2 separate regions of the Homo sapiens genome follow, and region 1 is linked to region 2. Evidence: promoter capture Hi-C in 16 types of primary human blood cells and fetal thymus (Javierre and others, 2016). All regions are on one chromosome and are shown on one strand. The core of a region is centred on a gene start or on the middle of the fragment in contact, and the rest is flanking DNA. Distances in the headings are between cores, read along the strand shown. Region 1 overlaps ACKR3 (atypical chemokine receptor 3). Region 2 holds the start of DRC11 (dynein regulatory complex subunit 11).

Region 1 (3,283 bases), core at 784-3,283, 65 kb before region 2:
GTCCTCACGCTGGTTAGTTCCTTCCAGAGAATGCCACGTGTTCAGGCACCTGGCCAGTGTCCCTCCAAACTCCCTTCCACATGTTTGCAGTCTCCAACCACAGACTCTTCCCAACTGATGCCCTCTGCCCTTCTGATTCTCCCACCTTCTCCTGGCCCCACACTGCACATCTCTATTCTGGAATGGCTTTTGTACCATCACGTTGTTCAGGTTTCTTGCCCCTCCACCTCATTCCTACCAGGCCCCGCACCCCCCACCAAGTCTTCTGTAACTTTGTGTAGCTACAGCTATACAGCTATACAGCTACAGCTGCACATAGTAGGTACTCAATGAGCCAGCAGTTAATCGTGCCCCACCAAGACCAGCGACTGTGGCCAGCAGCGGAGACGGGCGTCCAGGAGAGACTTTTCTGAAATCGTCACCGAGCTGGTGTTGACGGACTGAGCCTCTTGTTCCAGGAGGCACTGCTCTGGGGCACGTGAGGACAACAAATCAGAAACATCTCCCCCCAACCCCCGAGACCCCGCCGGCTAATTGGGAAGGCACGCAGGCCCATCACCCCCCAGGCATGAGCAAGGTGGTGCATGCCCCTTCAGCAGGAAAATGAGGGGTTTCTACTCTGGTGGCTTATGGGGGACTTCAAGGAGGTAGGGGTGATCAAGGATGTTCCAGGAAGGCACAGCCATGGGTAGAGTCACCCAGCCTGGCTGAGGCAAGGACTCTCCACGAAGAGCAAATGGAGGTAAGAGTTGGGCCTTAAAGGGTGGGCAAGGAATATGACCAGGGCTTGTCCATGCAGGAGCCAGGACAGTCTAGAGCAAGGCCATGGCTTTGGAGCAGAGGAGGCTTTGAGAATGGAAGTGATACGAACCCCACAGGCAGCTTTGCAGTGGGGTGGTCTGGTAGCTGGGTGCAGACCAGGCTGCTACACACACATCACTCCTCTACAGTGGTATAGATAAGATAACTCAGGCCAGGCCTGGGGCCCCGGGACCAGCTCCGAAAAGGGGGACCCTCTGGCCATCTGGGCCCTGCAGGACTTCTGCCTCCTTCACTGGCTTTCTGCAGTGTGAGACCTGTGTCCTACAAGGGAATTTCATGAAGAAACTTGGTATTGTCCCAGACAAGAGCTGGGACAGTGGCCCTCACTGTTTGCACACCTGGAAACTGAGGCCAGGCCGGGTGAAGAGACTGGGTTATGGTGCGCTTGTGGCTAAGAACAGAGTTCTCTTCCCCTTTCCAACATCTCCAGGGACTCTCCAGCGGGAATCATGCTACAAAAGCAAACGCTCTGGTCTCCTTGAGCAGATAACACCTCTTCCACCAGGCCAGCCCCGCTTACGCTGAGCCTGCAAGTTAGATCAGGAGAATCCACACTACCTCTGAAGAACCATTAGGCAACTGCGCATCATTGAGTGGGGTGTGTGTGTGTGTGCATGTGTGTGTGTCTGTGTGTCTGTGTGTTTTTAACCAATGCTACATCGAATCTATGGGGAAACCAACCAAGTAACCTAGGGGAGCTTTGGCCCAGGCAGACTCTCTGTGACTATCTGCTAGGGCTGATAGCAGAATGGGTAGCTGTCTGTCCCCTCTGCTGCCAGCAAATGGAAAACAGTCTTGACTACACATTCACTAGTGACCGTGAGTGATCTTATTTTATGCAAGTACATAACTGCTTTGAATTACTTGAGAACGCAAAAAATAATAACTACAGAAAACTCTATATCCTGATTCAGATACAGTCCACCTCTTCCCAGGGTCCTTAGACATACTTCACATGAACACGTGGGACACCCTCGTCCACTTTAAGGATTTGGGGGATCAAATAAATCCCACGTCCAGAAACCTGATCTGGTCTATTGTGCTCAGCTGCCCGACAGGGAAGCAAAGCTATACCCACAAGAGCAGGTCCAGAGATTCCCACGTCACAAAGGCTGCCGTCTGGGCCGGCCCAGTGTAACCAGAGCCCTGATTCCCACCCAGCTTAGGACTAGGACGAGGCAGTGGGAGGTCAGCCAGGCTAGGAGAGCCTCCTCACCCCCGCCCTAAGCCAGACACAATGGGGTTCCCAGGAGGACACTGTGCAAACTTAGGCTCTGCATATACAACTGAGGGAGGATGGCCACATATCTGTTATAGCAGGAAAAGCAAAAGATGCTTACTATCTGGCTGACCCAGACTTCAAAACGCAAAGTCCCCCACACTGCCCTGGGCTCGTTATCTGTCCCTTTGCCAACAGTGGTTCAAGGCCACCTGAGATAGTCTCGGCCCCCATCCACTTTTTCAGTGCCTGGAACAAAACACAGTCTGCTTCCAAAACTACCTGTGGCTCTTTAAAATTGTCACCATAAAATTATGCAATTCCCTGATCACTTTAATATTGAAGCAATAGTGTTTTGTTTTGTTTTTTTCAATTCCAAATTAGTCGATAAAAGCATCAAACATTCCCTGAAGGAAACCATCAAATATTCAAAATCAGGGCCACCGCCTGCACGCCTCCCTGTCCTGATCTGTCTATTTCTGGCTTGCTTTCTTTTATTTCAACAGAAAATACGTGTCCTGGAGCTTTGTCTTTTCCTTCCTGAACTTTAGTAACACTTGACATGACACGATCTTTAGTTTCTTCCTGAATTATGCCTACACACGTGCAATCCAATTGAAGGCGTTTTAATACTATTCTTGCTTCTAATAATAAAACTAAGTTATTTGATTGCCTGGTTTAAAGGTACAAATGCCTTCTGGCCCCAGATTCCCCTCATGTTCTACAAAATCACAAAAAAAAAATCTAAAGTTTTGCAATCTTTGAGGTCTTTTTCTTTCCCCTCGGTTACTCTTAAGGTTTATAAAGTGACTGCCCTTCAGCCTCAGGTTTGAGTGACTTCAACCAATTTCCCTCACGTCGACTTGAAAACAGGAGCTCTCGCCCTAAAATGATCACACAAAAAGCCACTGTTCCTGATTAAGCAGGGTTTTTTGTTTTGGGTTTTTTTTTTTTTTTTTTTTTTTTCATTCAGAAAGCCTATACTTGGCCTGTTCTGGGCCTGATTAGAAATCATAATACCTTCTCAACGCTTCAACGACTTGCTGTTAATACGGGGAAAACACACCCCCAAAGCCCTGCGTGTGTCGCACAGGCATGCTGCCTTGGCGATGCTTTATGGAACTTTTTTAAAACTACGTCTGCAATGTCTGCCCCTTAAAAGAGAAAAGCTGATGGGCAGCAAACTGCAGCCATTTCTCCATCTTCCTTCGCTTTCCCACCCCCATCCTGGGCAGCTTTCCC
Region 2 (3,150 bases), core at 411-2,910:
ACAAACAAACAAAAAAGATTTTTCTGCTTTTATTTATTTGGTTAGATTTTCTCCAGACTTTCTTTCACTTGTCTGGCCTATGTTATAATCCTTTCTTTTCTTCTACTTTTATGAAAGTCTTGGTTTTAGACAGTGGATATGCTGCTTCTTTCTGTCTTATTCCTATTTAACACGTGTTGCTCTTTGAAAATGTTCTGTTTGTTCAAATATAATGTGGGCGAATTCTCTTTGACTGTCTTCTCACTGTATCTGAGTTCCAGAGCTGAGATACTGCACTTTTCTCTGCTTTTCTGGAACCTGAGTACACATTTAGGATAAGGACTGCTCCCTTGAATCCACACAACTTCCAGGCTCTGTGCTCTCTTCTGAGATTTTGATAAGCTCCTTTACCACCATCCTCCCACTCTTGTCACGAGTGTGCCCTATTCCTGTGACAACATGCCCTTTGACTTTGAATCTTTGCCTCAATTCAATGTAGGGACCTAGAAAAAGGCAAGCCCTGGAGATTTCTCCTGTCCCTGCTCAGGTCCTGGGAGCGGTAGGGATTGACCTCCACTCAGGATGGTTTTATCTGGCCGGATTTCCCCAGGTGTTTCCTCGTTCGGCTCACCCTTTCATACCCCTTCTTTTCAGTGTGTGTATTCTTTGCATCAAAAAGCATTAATGAGAATTCTTGGTGTTGTGTCTACTTGGTCTCTGCCCCCTGAAGGGCTTTGGGAGGGTGGAGATGAGGCTGGACACCATTCTCCACGGCAAGCTGCTATTTCACTGAGTTTTTGAAGTTTACGGTACAAGGTTGTACTCAATTTCTCGTCTGAGAAATAATTTGCTCCATTATTTGAAGGCGGTGCGGAGGGCTGGCTTTTACTATGCTTTTGCGCATTTCATTAGTAATGGTGGGGGAGAGGTTTTGTGATCCTGATTATAATTTTTACCTGGATGTCCTCTCCACGCCTTTGACAGCATTAAACCTGGCGTTCCAATAGGAGCTGCAGGGTCTAAAATGTGCAAATAAACCTCAACAGTTACTAAAGTCGAAGAAAGAAGAGCAATGAAAGCCAACACTCATAGCGACTTACGGATAACTGTTAATAGCATCCACACTGCATTTTACATTTACAACGCACCCGCGCCTTAGTTCATACTCATTAAGTCTCCGAAGGGCGCGTCTGCCTAAGTCTTGGGTGCCCAGAATCTAAGTCTGCACTTGGCCCAGAATAGATGCCCAGTAAAGTTCTGAACGAACGACTGTTATACCCAGTTTACAGATGGGAAAACTGAAGACCACCATCATTAAGGGCCTTGCCCAAGGCCGCAGAGCTGACAGTGGATGAAAATGGGGCCAGCAGGAAAGCGGGAAGACGGCCTGGAGGACCACAGGCTAAGTGCTGGGGCCCGGAGCAGGCTCGCCAAGCGGCCGGGCCCCGCGACGGAGCGCTCGGACTCCGACCGGCTCCCACAGCTGCGCCCACCCAGGCCTCCCGCGGTGGCGCAGGCGCGGAATGCGGGGGGCGGGGGGGGGGAGGGGGCAGGCGGAAGGCAATGCGCAGGCGCGGCGTTTCCGTTGCTAGGGCCGCGTCGCGCCCACCTGAGTGGCCGAAGTGAGGTTCGCGAGTCTCTGGGTCGCGACGGGAAGGAGTGAAACACCTCTCTGCGCCTGCGCGCTCCGTGCCTGCGAAGCAAACCCGGCCTCACCTTTTCCTGCCCGAAGCAGAAGATTCTCGCAGTCCTGGTTTCTCCCTCCAGAAGACCCCCCACCCAAATCCTCTGTAGCTCCTGGTAGTGCCCTGACCCCTGCTGCCACCGTCCTTCAGAGAGCAACGGAAGAGCTTCCCGGAGGGCGAGGAAAAGAGGGAAAGTAGCCAGCAATGTCGAACGCGTAAGTGATGGGCTCCCAGCCACAGCCATGGAGTGGGCTTCCCCAAGCCAGAAGGTGGCTTGCTTTCTGCTTCTCTTATTTTCTTTTTTCTTTTCTTTTCTCCTCCCCTCTCAACTTCCCTCCTCTCCCCCACTTTTTTTCCTTTTAGGAAATTCAAATATGCCTCGGGATAGAGTATCTGCTTCTTGTGAGCAAGGAAAATCATACACTTAGATCTCCCCCTCCCCTACGCGTCCCACCACCCCATGGGGATGAGCTCCCAGTCTTCCGTATACCTGCCAAGCCCTTAGGGGCTATTGCTGAGAAGCACTATGCCATTTTGTCTGCTTTTTTTGTTAATCTTTCACGGTAACAAATACGGTGCTTTGTGGAAACACCTAGGTCCTGAAATTTAAGTCTAGAAAGATCTTGGGAAAGCATTATTGACATTTGCTTTTCACAGACTCGAGTGGCATTGGTACTGAAAGAAGTGTGTGCCTAGCACTGTGTCGTTTACACAGCACTTGCACAAAGTTACCTCATTTGGTCTTCGTAAGAATAATTTCCAACAGGTATTACAGCGCTGACCCTGTAGACACTGTTCTAACCGCTTCACAGCAACCCTGTAACGTAGGGGCTGTTAATATTGTTATTTCCATTTTACAGATGAGGGAACTTGGGGATGAAGAGGTGAAGTAGTTCACACAGCAAGTGAACAGTGCCAAGCCGGGCACTGTAGCTCCAGCCTGCACTGTTGCTATTACGTGCCCTGTATTCTAGGCAAGGAAATAAGAGCAGAGAGGTTAAAGGCTTGCCAGGGTTTGGAAATGGGGAAGATCAAGAGTTCTGTTTAAGACGTATTGAGTTGGAAGTGCCCATTGGACATCACGTGGAGATGAAATAGGCAATTAAAATATTCAGATCTTGGGTTCAGGAGCGAGACCCATGTCTGAAATATAAACTTGCTCACTGTCAGCCTGTGATGGTCTTTGTGAGACATAGAATGAATATTAATAAAGAGGTGTAAGGACTGATCCTGGGATCATCCACAGTAAGGCTGGGGGAAGAGGAGACCTGGCAAAGGAATCAAAGACATGATCCATGAGGAAGAAGCGAGTGGAAGAAATAATAGTGTTTCCAGGAGAAGTAACTTCTTTCTCCTCCATCAAGTGCTCCTGAGACAAGTTGGGGTAGAACTGAGAACTGACTGTTGATTTGGCAGTGTGGAGTTCACCAGTGACCTTGACAGGAGCTGATTCAGTGGTATGATGAGATAGAAAGACTTACTCAAG

What was found. The method cuts DNA at HindIII sites, captures the fragments that hold promoters and counts their contacts. A CHiCAGO score of 5 or more calls a contact.
Region 1: a fragment that was not itself captured here is called in contact with the fragment with the promoter of DRC11 in region 2 in 1 of 17 cell types (total B cells); the score reaches 5.4 in total B cells.

The regions. Positions count from the first base shown.
Region 1 is chr2:236,571,343-236,574,625 of GRCh38, reverse strand. The region is part of intron 1 of ACKR3 (atypical chemokine receptor 3); the gene reads right to left. Among named protein-coding and RNA genes, the nearest start is that of ACKR3, 3.2 kb to the right of the region's middle. The HindIII fragment of the contact is 7,885 bases long and covers 1-3,283 here.
Region 2 is chr2:236,505,986-236,509,135 of GRCh38, reverse strand. DRC11 (dynein regulatory complex subunit 11) reads left to right here and starts at 1,660. Exons shown (of 19, transcript NM_024726.5): 1 at 1,660-1,879. The coding sequence starts at 1,869. RefSeq lists a silencer at 1,485-1,534. The HindIII fragment of the contact is 24,475 bases long and covers 1-3,150 here.